4 separate regions of the Homo sapiens genome follow, and all the other regions are linked to region 4. Evidence: promoter capture Hi-C in 16 types of primary human blood cells and fetal thymus (Javierre and others, 2016). All regions are on one chromosome and are shown on one strand. The core of a region is centred on a gene start or on the middle of the fragment in contact, and the rest is flanking DNA. Distances in the headings are between cores, read along the strand shown. Region 1 overlaps HTATIP2 (HIV-1 Tat interactive protein 2). Region 2 holds the start of EIF3M (eukaryotic translation initiation factor 3 subunit M). Region 3 holds the start of HTATIP2 (HIV-1 Tat interactive protein 2). Region 4 holds the start of LIN7C (lin-7 cell polarity scaffold C).

Region 1 (2,700 bases), core at 201-2,700, 7.1 Mb after region 4:
TCAGGCTCACCGCAACCTCCACCTTCCGGGTTCAAGCGATTCTCTTGCCTCAGCCTCCCGAGTAGTTGGGATTACAGGCATGCGCCACCACGTCCGGCTGATTTTGGATTTTTAGTAGAGACAGGGTTTCTCCATGTTGGTCAGGCTGGTCTGGAACTCCCGACCTCAGGTGATCCACCTGCCCGCGAGCCACCGCCCGGCCCAGAATTCTTGCTTAGGAGGGAGTGCCCCAGGCTCTAGCAGAGTTTATCTAATTGGCCTATCAGGCCCTGCATAATCCTGCCTCTTTCCAATGGAACCCTTCACCTTGGGTCCCACCCTTAAGCCTTTTATTTACTGCTAATCATTGAATGTTCTACACATGGGTAGGTCCCTTTGGTCTCAACCAGAAACACTTTCCTCAGGCCATTTCTAAAATAGTTTCCACCATTATTTCAGGAGTATCCTGTTAGTTTCTTAGCACCCACCATTTGCTTACTTGATTTTTTTTTCTTTTTTGGTGATACCCCACAGCACTGAACAATAAGGGTAAGTAAGGGCCATGTCTCTTTACTTTCATTTCTCTGGCACATAATATGTGGCCTGGCCCATAGTATTAATAGATACTGAATGTATTCACTGAATAAAAATGATGCCTTATATTATTGCTAAATGTACTTCTAAATGTACTTTTCTCCCTTAATTGTAAATTCCTAGAGGACAGAATCCATTAAATATTAGTTTTTGTTTTTGTTTTTCTTTGAGACAGAGTCTCGCTCGGTTGCCCAGGCTGGAGTGCAGTGGTGCGATCTTGTCCCACTGCAACCTCCACCTCCCAGGTTCAAGCGATTCTCCTGCCTCAGCCTCCCAAGTAGCTGGGATTATAGGTGCTCACCACCATGCCTGGCTAATTTTTATATTTTTAGTAGTGACAGGGTTTCACCATGTTGGTCAGACTGGTCTTGAACTCCTGACCTCAAGTGATCTGCCCACCTCGGCTTCCCAAAGTCCTGAGATTACAGGCGTGATTGACCGCACCCGGCCCAAATATTAATTTTGAAGCTTTCTTACATCCTAGGACATTGCCAGAATAGCTGCTGGCTCTCTTGAGTTGGAGTCATCGTTCATGGATGCATCCCCAGTGCCTGTGTGCTCAGTGGCACATGAAAGGCACTGAATAAGCATTTGCTGAATGAATTAATGAACACTTGATTACCTGGGCCCATCCAACTTTTCCCTTCATCCTTCCAACATAAACTTTTTCTGTCTGTGTAACATTTGGTGGAAAACTTCCTGAATCCCTTAGTACTAAATGGAACACCCAGTCCATTCAGTGTTGACAATAAAACAAGTTAACACCCATTGTGGAGGAGTGATTGGGCCAGAGTCTTGTTCCTTAGTAAGTTCATATCTCACCACAATGCAGAGCTCAAGAGAGGGCTGCTTTTCTCTCTACTCCAAAGGTGAACACAGACCCTTCCTCATTATCCCACATCACTACTGAGACCAGAATAACATGTTGAATGAAACCTGCTCGAAGGTTTGTGAGTAAGGAAATAATATAAGGAGAATAACTTAAAACAGGCCACTGGGTTTAGCTGCTTTCAGAGCCCAGAGGCCTCAACATATCCTCGGCCCATGCTTTTTCACCATCAAAACAACACACTTAGGCTCTTCAAAGTCCAACTCCCAGGGAACCCCACCTGGCAGAAGGAAGATATTTCATTTCCTTTTAAAGCTCACATTTCAATATCCCACCCTGCCCTAAAATATGCCTCTTTTTTGGGTGACTGACACTGGGAATGTCTTCTCCCTTCTAAGGATATACACTCCAAATTAAGGAGAATGGCCTTTATCCTCCAGTGTATACTGAAGCTTGAAATGTACTTGGCATACAGTAGGCCTTGGAAGAATTGACTGAGTCCCTCGAATCACTTTGCTTCCCTGGTGCAGACGTTAAGACAAGTTACATTAACATCTTTTGTTCTATGATGGAAATTAGCAATGTATGTTCCTCTTGGCTTTGACCCTTCCTTCTGCATCTTCCTTTGCCTTAATTTTTAAAGTGCAGCAGCATGAGCACTTTAAAGTTTGGTGGCATAGAATTTTACTGGCTATGTGAACATTTAGTAATTAATCACTAGAACAAAGGAGAAACCCAAATATTTCGATTTTGTTCATCCACAACATGTAGTAACAATCAACTGGAACTACCTGGAAATATACGGGAACAGAATGCTTTTGCAGGGTGCTTAAAAACACGATATATGGGATCTATGGGATCAGGCAGACCTGGGTTAGAATCCTGACTCTGCCATTTCTTTGCTTCAGTTCTTCAGATTTGGACTCTTGAGCAAGGCACTTAACCACAGTGAGCCTCATTTCCCCATCTAAGACATGAAGATCATGATAGTATCACTTTATAAGGATTGTTTATAAGAGGGTTAAAGCACAGATAACACATGTAAAGACTGGTACTTAGCAAGCATTTGGTAAATATTAGCTGCTATTATATCACCCCATAGGCTGAAATGCTGCATATCACACTACATGGGCATTTTCAAGCAATCTAAGAGGCACCCAGGAGTTGTCCATTCATCTTTATTCCTTTATTTAATCCTCCCCATGTATTATATAAGCTTAGGTATATAACTTCTATTACATAAAGAAGTAGTAAAGGCACAATGTTTACTTACACAATTACATGTAGTGAATTAGCAC
Region 2 (2,700 bases), core at 10-2,509, 5.1 Mb before region 4:
CCGACCAGGGAGCTGGCGGTGAAGCGTCGGGCCCCGCGCTGGGACCGCCGGCCGGCGAGCTGGTGCGAATCGAGGCCAGGAACGCGCGCCCCAGCCACCGGCCTCCCCATTCTCGCGTGTAGAACAGCTGCGGGTGTCAGCCCCGGCCGCCCGGCCCAGGCTCGGCAGCGGTCCCTTGCGCTACTAGGACATCCCCCACCCCACCGTGGCGGCACCCGTAGACCGAAGCACACCTGATCTTCTTCACTGATGTCGATGAAGGCCGGGACGCTCATGGTGCAGGCCCGGGCACAGCGGACACTCCACTCGCAAGACCACGCCGACCGGAAAAGGGAACTGGGCCGCGCGACGCTGCTGGCGCAACTGCTTCCGGGTCACCCTGAGCGGCGACCTGTTGGGGCGGGGCCTTGAGAGCCAATCCTATCGCGCGCTCTCGCCGCGGAATGCAGCAGGGCGTGGCAGACGCGCTCGGGCTGGCCTAGTGGGTGGGACTTACTGGGCCTCCACTCAGCGACGCTTGTCGCGGCCTCCAGTTTTCAGGCCCGTGTAGCTAACTGCATTGATGTTGCCTCCCGCTGGCGCCTCCCTAAGTCCACCTTCCCTTGAAATGTTAAGCTTGTTGGGTCTTACCAAGTATGGATGGGTTTGTGTAGACCTGAAACTCTCCTGTACTGCTGTTGGGAACATAAAATGGTGCAGTCACTTTGCAGAGGAGCGGCAGTTTCTGAAAAAGTTCAGTATCCACCCAGCATATGACCCAGCTATTCTTCTACCCAAACTGTATGTCCGTACAAAGACTTGTACAAGAATGTTCATTGCCGCTTTTAAAAAATAGCAGCTTTGGCTGGGCGCAGTGGATCTCACGCCTGTAATCCCAGCACTGTGGGAGGCCGAGGTGGGCGGATCACTTGGGGTCAGGAACTGGAGACCAGCCTGGGCAACATGGCAAAACCCCGTCTCTACTAAAAATACAAAAATTACCGGGGCATAGTGGTGCGCGCCTGTAATCCCAGCTACTCGGGAGGCTGAGGCAGGAGAATCACTTCAACCTGGGAGAAGGAGGTTGCAGTAAGCCCAGATCATGCCACTGCATTCCAGCCTGGGCGACAGAGCGAGACTCCGTCTCATAAAATAAATACACAATTCAGTAGTTTTTAGTATTTTCAGAGTTGCACAACCATCACTACTATTTAATTTTAGAACATTTTCATCACCTACAAAAGAAACTACCCATCAGCAATCACTCCCCAGACCCCCGGCCCCACCTCTCTCCAGCCCCTGGCAAACACTACATTTTGTCTCTATGAATTTGCCTTTTCTGGACATTTCATGTAAGTGGAATCACAAAATACACGGTGGCCTAAGTCAGACTTACTTCATTTAGCATAATGTTTTCAAGGTTCGTCCATGTATCCCTCCTATATTCCTATTTATTGCTTATAATATTGCATTGTTATGGATATACCACATTGTGTTGATTTGTTCATCAGTTGGTGGACACTTGGGTTGTCTCCATTTTTTGGCTATTATGAATAATGTTTCCATGAACGTTAGTGCACAAGATTTTGTGTGTACGTATATTTCTCTTAGGTATGTACCTATGAGAGGAATCAGTGGCTTATTTAGTAAATTTATGTTTAGCTTTTTCAGGAGACAGTTTCCAAAAAGTTAACACTTTATTTTCAATAGCCAAAAAAAAGGAAACAACCCAAATGTTCATCAATAGATGAATGAAGTGGATCAAAAAATTGTTATACATCTGCTTAATGGAATACTGCTGTGCAACAAAAAAGGATGAATTATTGATACATGCAAAAACACAGATGAATCTTTTTTTTTTTTCAGTCTCTTCAGCCTGGGTGACAAAGTGAGTGAGACTCCATCTCTTAAAATAAAAGCTTGATTTTTTTTCTTTAGTTGACAATCCCAAAATAATTCAAAATAATTTTGTTCAGTTAATCATCATACTGTATGATTCCATTTATATAAAACTCTAGAAAGTAGAAACTATAATGACAGCATTATAGATTGCTGTTGCCTGGGGGCAGGGATTGGGTAAGGCGGGGGGAAAGATGGATACAGAGGGGCTTGAGGAAGTTTTTGGGGGTTATGGATGTGTTCATTATTTTGACTGTGATTGTGTCATGATTGTATACATATATAACATTTTTCAAAGTGTGCAGTTCAAAAATGTGCAGTTTATTGATACCACAATTATACTTCAATATAAAATAAATGCCAAGCAAAGGAAAAAAACAAGGTTGAGGGGATAGAGGACACAAAACATCTGGCTAGACTAAATTTGAAAGGATTCATTCTTGCATGGAATAGCCTTAACAATGTGGAAAGTGAAACTGAAGGCAGGGAACCTGTGTCATGTTCACCCTGCATTTCCGCACCCACCTCAGTGCCCAGCCCACAGCAGATCATCAGGAAATACCAGTTGATTCTGAAGGAATAATCCCTGGGCTCCTCCCCTCGCCTTATTATTGCAAAGTTCGAGGAATACAAACTCAACAATACAATACCATTTTATCAAATATTTAAAAGACTTGTCTCTTTTTTACTATTGTTATTTTTTTTTTCATTCTGTGATCCTTGTGAAGTAAAAGAACACCCAGGGAAATTCTTGAGAGAGGATATGGACAGTTATTTAAAACTTTAAACTTTCATTCATTCAAAATAAACACACACACACAC
Region 3 (2,700 bases), core at 114-2,613, 7.1 Mb after region 4:
GAAAGGCAGAGGTTGCACTGAGCCGAGATCGTGCCACTGCACTCCAGCCTGGGGGACAGAGTGAGACTCCGTCTCAGAAAAAAAAAAAAAAAAACCTTTAACTTAGAGTGAAGGGAATATCCGATTTACAGACACAAGCCTGGGAAGTCAGGCAGGGCAAATTCTTGTAAGTGAATAATCCCACCTTTCACTGCCATAGACCTATCTCACTCTGCAAAGCAGTTTCAGAATCCCTGACAATATTAGTGTGAAGTGCGCAGGTTGACAAAATCAGCAAAGTGGCTGAGAAAATTCTCAAGGTCACCAGGGCTGCCTCTAGAATACAGCTTGTATGACCCTGAAAACAGTGCTCTTCTGTCTCACCAGCCCCCACCCCCATTACAACCCAGACCCAGCTTTATAGGGTTGCAGATGGAGAGAAGGGCTTTGCCCAAGACCACACAATGAGCGGGAGGGAGGCACACCTGGGCTACAATCCAGGAGTCAGACTTCTGGGAGGGACTCTCACAGACCAATCTTGGCCAAGTTTTGATGGCCTCTCACTACCCCCACCACTGGCAGGGCAGTATTCAGCCTTTAGGCATGAAATATGTTCACCTCGCAGAATCCTGGGGGTCCATTTGAGTCCCAGCTGAAATACCCACCACATTTTTATAAGCTTCCTCGTCGAAGGTGAGCTTCCTCCGGCCAATGAGCGTGACTTTGGAAAACAGGCCCTGCTCCAGGATTTCCTTTAAGAGCACTCTGCCGGTTTCTCCGCTGGCGCCCAAAATAAAGACGGATTTATTCTGCATCCTGAAGTCTTCCCGAAGCTTCGACAGGGCTTCTGTTTCGGCCATGCTGGGGAAATAACATCGACAGATGCCGGTCTTAGGGTGTCAGGGGACTGCCAGTCCTTATCCCGAGGAACAAGGGCTGTTTATCTGTTAGGGAGGAGGATATTGTTCTCCGCAGTCCGGGCTCTGGGGAAAGTGCTGAGTCACGTGCGGGGCGCGGCTCCCCGGCCATCGCCCGCACCTGAGCCAGCAGACCCATCGGAAGGGGCCCGAGCTGGAGGGTGCGCCCAGGTGCCACAAGCTGCTGGCATCACTGGGCATACCCCACGGTATCCCCGGCCCGGCCAGGAGACCTGGCCCAGCTCGGTCCCATACGCGGAGGGGTTACCTGGGGCCAGCCCCCGGCCCCGGGTCCTCACGACGCAGCAGGAGCAGGGCGGCCGCCAGAGCAGCCGCCGCCGCCGCGCTCAGCGCCGCAGGCCCGGCCATCAGAGCATCCCACCTTCCCTGGTCGGACCGGGGGGGTTGGAGGCGACGGAGACAGCGCCTACCCGGCTTGGTCTTCCGGGTGGCCTCGCGGCGACGCTGCCTCGCCCCGCCCACAGGGGCGGGACCTGGAGACGAACTCCTGGCACCCTCACAGGCGCGGGGAAGGTGACCCCGAGAGCACGTGCGCGGAGCCGCGACCCTTCCTAAGTTTGGAATCTGCAAGACCCTCTTCCCGCGTTTTCCCTCACCTGCTGGGCTCAGCTCACCCAGGCGCCAGCTAGTAGACTTGCCAGACTTGATCTTCAATGGTCCCCCCAGCTGGAATGTCAATTGTATATTGGCCATCATCTCAAATTCACCAAGTCAAAAACTTAACCCTGCCTACCCAACCACCCCAAACAGGAATAAAACAAACCTATTCCTAGCCTCTCTTGGGTGTCACTGTCCCTACATAAACATACACACACACACGCACACACACACACACCTCCTTCTACCCTGTCAAGTCAGAAATCAGGATTCCTTTGATTCCTTTCTTTTCTAGCCTTTCCACACTACAGACTTATCAAGTCCTGTTATCCCATCTGCCTTACAAATATTTCTCCCATGTAATTCAAGCTCGCATCATATCTCCCCAGAATAAATGGTCTACCTGCCCAGGTCCTGGCCTAATTCATCACCTAGATGGTTGAACCCGGGTGACCTTCCACACCTGTGATTCAGTCTTCCTAGCCCAGATCAGTGGTTTGGGACACAGGTATCTACACTGGGCCTGTCCTGGATCTTGGAAGTCCTGAACAGAGGTTAGAATGACAAGCAGAAATCTGAATAATTTCAGATTGTTCAGGTTTTGTTGGGAACATTGGTCATTTGGGGGCCCCACCTCCCATCTAGAAGCCAATGAAACACATTGCCTCTTCCATCTCCATGGGAGTTATTATATGTAGGCTTTGCCTAGGCTCAGCAAGCCAGAGGCTCACGCATAGGTTTTCAGTTTTGGAGGAGTAATGAAAAGATGCAGTGAAGGCCTGAGATATATGTGGGTTGGTTGGGGCAAGGGTATAGGATTATGGCATCATATGATCCACCAGCCATCTGATGGTCTGATCTTGTCTTAAATTCCTGCCTGTTTTCAGAGACTGTTGTGAATACAGTACTTCCTGTTATTCTTCTGATAAATTCCTGTGCTGTATAAGCTTACCAGATATATTCTGTTGTTTGCAATAAAAAAGCTTGATTAATATAGAGCAGTGTGGTTCATTCCCCACTGGCCTGTCACAGTGCCTGGACTCTTCCCTTTGAGTTCCTAAAGGTTTTCTACAAGAATGCAATGTTAAACCTTGTCAGCAAACACTGTCCTAGTAATTCATTTATCAAATCTGTCACAGAAATTATTCATTGTACCCTGTCTATTCTTCCCCTTTGTTTAAAATTG
Region 4 (2,700 bases), core at 102-2,601:
TGAGACCAGCCTGGGCAACATAGCAAGACCCCCATCTCTACTAAAAATTTAAAAATTTGCCAGGCATGGTGGTGCTTGCCTGTAGTCCTCGCTACTGGCAAGACTGAGACAGGAGGCTCTCTTGAGCTGTGATTGCACCACTGCACTCCAGTCTGGACAACAGAGAGAAACTCTGTCTCTAAAACAAACAAAAAGACTTGGAATCAGGAATAAATATGGTTGAAACTATACTATCTGGACTGAAGTGGTGGTTGCACTTAGTGGTAATGAGAAATGAAGTTAGTTGGATGAGTTAGGGTCAGAGTATGCAAGGCTTTAGAAATAGGAAACAGGAGAGAAACCATTGAAAGTTTCTGAACAGAACTTGTGATGATGAAATCAGAATTCAAGGGGAGAAAAAGGAGCATAGTGGTGGCATCCATGATGGATTTGGAGAAGAAAATACTAAAGGTGAATGGAAAGGGTGGACCAGGGGCAAACAGGTTATTAAAACAGTCCCATCATGAAGTGTTGAAATGCTGGATGTAAACACACCTACCACAGTATCAGTACAGACTAAGGGCTTGGATAAATGTTAGTCAAATCCAAGTACTAAAATTCTTCTTGGTTCGCGAAAATTTCAGAAGTGGCTCAAAAATCTGTAATGCATTAAGAATATTATTTGCTTCACAATATTTCATTTACTTAAGATTTTATAAGAATCAGCTGCTTATAAAATTGTTACTTTGTGGTGCACCAAAGCACCTTGTTCTCTCCCTCACCCAGATATGTTTCATGCTCTTTGTACTTTCCACCCCTTAACAGATTTGGAGGGAAGATTCAAGCCGTGGATTTTTAAATTTAAAGCAATGCTGTCACAAATTGAGAACTGACAACATGTCATTACACATTTAATTGCCACCGAATCCCAGAGTTTAAAAATTGTAAGGACCTAAGAGATAGGACCTCTCGTTGTACAGATGCGGAAACTGAGGCTGAGAGAGGGTAAGTGAACAGTCCCAGGTCACAGAGCTGCTAATGGGCAAGGTGGGACTAGAATCCAGGCTTGACTCCTCTACGCTGAGCCAAGGGTTCGAAGCGATTGGGATAAGGGAAGCCTGAGGCAGGGAACGAGAGTCAGGAAAGCAGCTCTTCCCAACCCTAGGAGGCCGGGGGACCTCGTCACCGCGGAAGGAGCGGAGCCAGGCCGACCTAAAAAGCCGCAAGTCCAGGTACCCTTACCCTGATGGCCGCGGCGACACACTCGGCCACCTTCCTGATCTCGCGATACTAGCCGGTACTCACTTTTCCGGCTTCCCCTAGGCCCCGCCCCCCCACCTCAGCCCTTCTGTCGTCATTTCCTGTGGGTCTGTAGGTTAAGGGAGAAGATGGCGGCGCTAGGGGAACCCGTGCGGCTGGAGAGAGGTGAGTGCAGCCGAGGCTCGGCGGAGGTGGGCGGAAGGGTTGGGGGAGTGCTGTGTCGCTGGAGGGGAGGAGGAGTGACCCAGGCTCTGAGATCCGGGCCACGCTGTCCCTTGTGCCGGCGCCAGAGGCCGCCGTTGTCTCTGTGCCTGGCTCTAGGAAGGGCGCTTACGGTATTTTGTCTGTTAACCGTAAGCCCTCCTCTGTTCACACGGACTGTTCCAAGGCACAGCACAACTAAACACAACCTGCCCGCTTCGCAGACACACGCCGCACACGCGCTCCCTTGGTGAGCACAGCAGAAGCAGCATTCGGAGACCCGTACACCCGAAAAGCAAACGTCACACACCCGGTTCGCACAGACTACACTCATTGCCTGTACAGCACGAGAACGGACACACGGTACAATTCAACAGAACCTCCTTTCCCCGCTGTTTGCACACAAACTCCTTCATTACTTTCTCCACAACCTCGCTTGTATTCGGGTTGGGGTATTTGCTAGCTTTTGTGCCCCTCCTAGAAATGGAGAGGTTGCTTTAAAAACAATCCTACTGACTTGGTCTTGGGAAGGAGGTTACGTAAGTAAGCCGAATAGTGGTAGATGCTAAAACACTTGCAGGTGCAGTGTTTTTCATTTCTTACAAACCCTACAATTGCAAACTGGTTGGCTGATTGCTTCCTAGAGCAGACTGTCAAGGAAAATAAAACCACCTCTGCTGAGTAATTAGAGATAGAGAAGCCTACGAAAATAACTGGCTATGCGCCTACCATGATTTCCAGCATTCCAGCGTTTCCAGTCCTTTTACAGATTTCCAGCATTCCACTCTGTCCCTAAGTCCTTTATTTCAAACAATTTCAAGCATGCTTTTCATACACCAGCATTAGAAATCATTGATAGGAATTGAGAAGTACAAATAAACATTTTGAGTACTGGTGGTAAAAAAAAATGTATATGTAGGATGGAGACTGAAATTATATTGCACATATTAACATTTGCAATTAGTCTAAATATTACTATTGTTCCCTAAGAAAACACATTTTTAGAATTACTGTACTTAGAAAAACCTCTTTCCTAATGCCTTCCCACAAACAAATGTGCACTTAATGTTGCTGATTTGCTCTTTACCGTGTTCACCATTTGGAAGCCTCACTGTAAATGAGATTGTTTCCGTTAAGCCTATTAAAGCATCATTTTAGAGGACTAGCTACTCTGGGAAGACTTGCCGAGTTAGGCCTAAGTCTCTGACATCTTCCTCTTGAGCACAGTGGCACTGTGTTTTATAGATGGGAGCAAATCTG

Evidence for each region. The method cuts DNA at HindIII sites, captures the fragments that hold promoters and counts their contacts. A CHiCAGO score of 5 or more calls a contact.
Region 1: a contact is called between a fragment that was not itself captured here and the fragment with the promoter of LIN7C in region 4, in 2 of 17 cell types (total CD4 T cells and total CD8 T cells). The highest score is 7.9, in total CD4 T cells.
Region 2: a fragment that was not itself captured here is called in contact with the fragment with the promoter of LIN7C in region 4 in 1 of 17 cell types (non-activated CD4 T cells); the score reaches 7.8 in non-activated CD4 T cells.
Region 3: the fragment with the promoter of HTATIP2 here is called in contact with the fragment with the promoter of LIN7C in region 4 in 4 of 17 cell types (non-activated CD4 T cells, total B cells, activated CD4 T cells and 1 more); the score reaches 11.6 in non-activated CD4 T cells.

Annotation. Positions count from the first base shown.
Region 1 is chr11:20,383,645-20,386,344 of GRCh38, reverse strand. It overlaps HTATIP2 (HIV-1 Tat interactive protein 2), which reads right to left. Exons shown (of 5, transcript NM_001098522.2): 5 at 2,563-2,700. Among named protein-coding and RNA genes, the nearest start is that of PRMT3, 2.7 kb to the left of the region's middle. RefSeq lists an enhancer at 801-1,302 and a silencer at 1,235-1,435. The HindIII fragment of the contact is 813 bases long and covers 1,044-1,856 here.
Region 2 is chr11:32,581,463-32,584,162 of GRCh38, reverse strand. EIF3M (eukaryotic translation initiation factor 3 subunit M) reads right to left here and starts at 332. Exons shown (of 11, transcript NM_006360.6): 1 at 234-332. The coding sequence starts at 275. RefSeq lists enhancers at 177-326, 1-621 and a silencer at 487-546. The HindIII fragment of the contact is 1,283 bases long and covers 618-1,900 here.
Region 3 is chr11:20,362,377-20,365,076 of GRCh38, reverse strand. It overlaps HTATIP2 (HIV-1 Tat interactive protein 2), which reads right to left and starts at 1,363. Exons shown (of 5, transcript NM_001098522.2): 1 at 645-1,363. The coding sequence starts at 839. RefSeq lists silencers at 1,014-1,156, 943-1,362. The HindIII fragment of the contact is 1,649 bases long and covers 815-2,463 here.
Region 4 is chr11:27,505,420-27,508,119 of GRCh38, reverse strand. LIN7C (lin-7 cell polarity scaffold C) reads left to right here and starts at 1,351. Exons shown (of 5, transcript NM_018362.4): 1 at 1,351-1,404. The coding sequence starts at 1,368. BDNF-AS (BDNF antisense RNA) reads right to left here and starts at 1,268. Exons shown (of 7, transcript NR_033315.1): 1 at 1,222-1,268. RefSeq lists enhancers at 945-1,234, 1,305-1,434, 591-1,790. The HindIII fragment of the contact is 9,378 bases long and covers 1-2,700 here.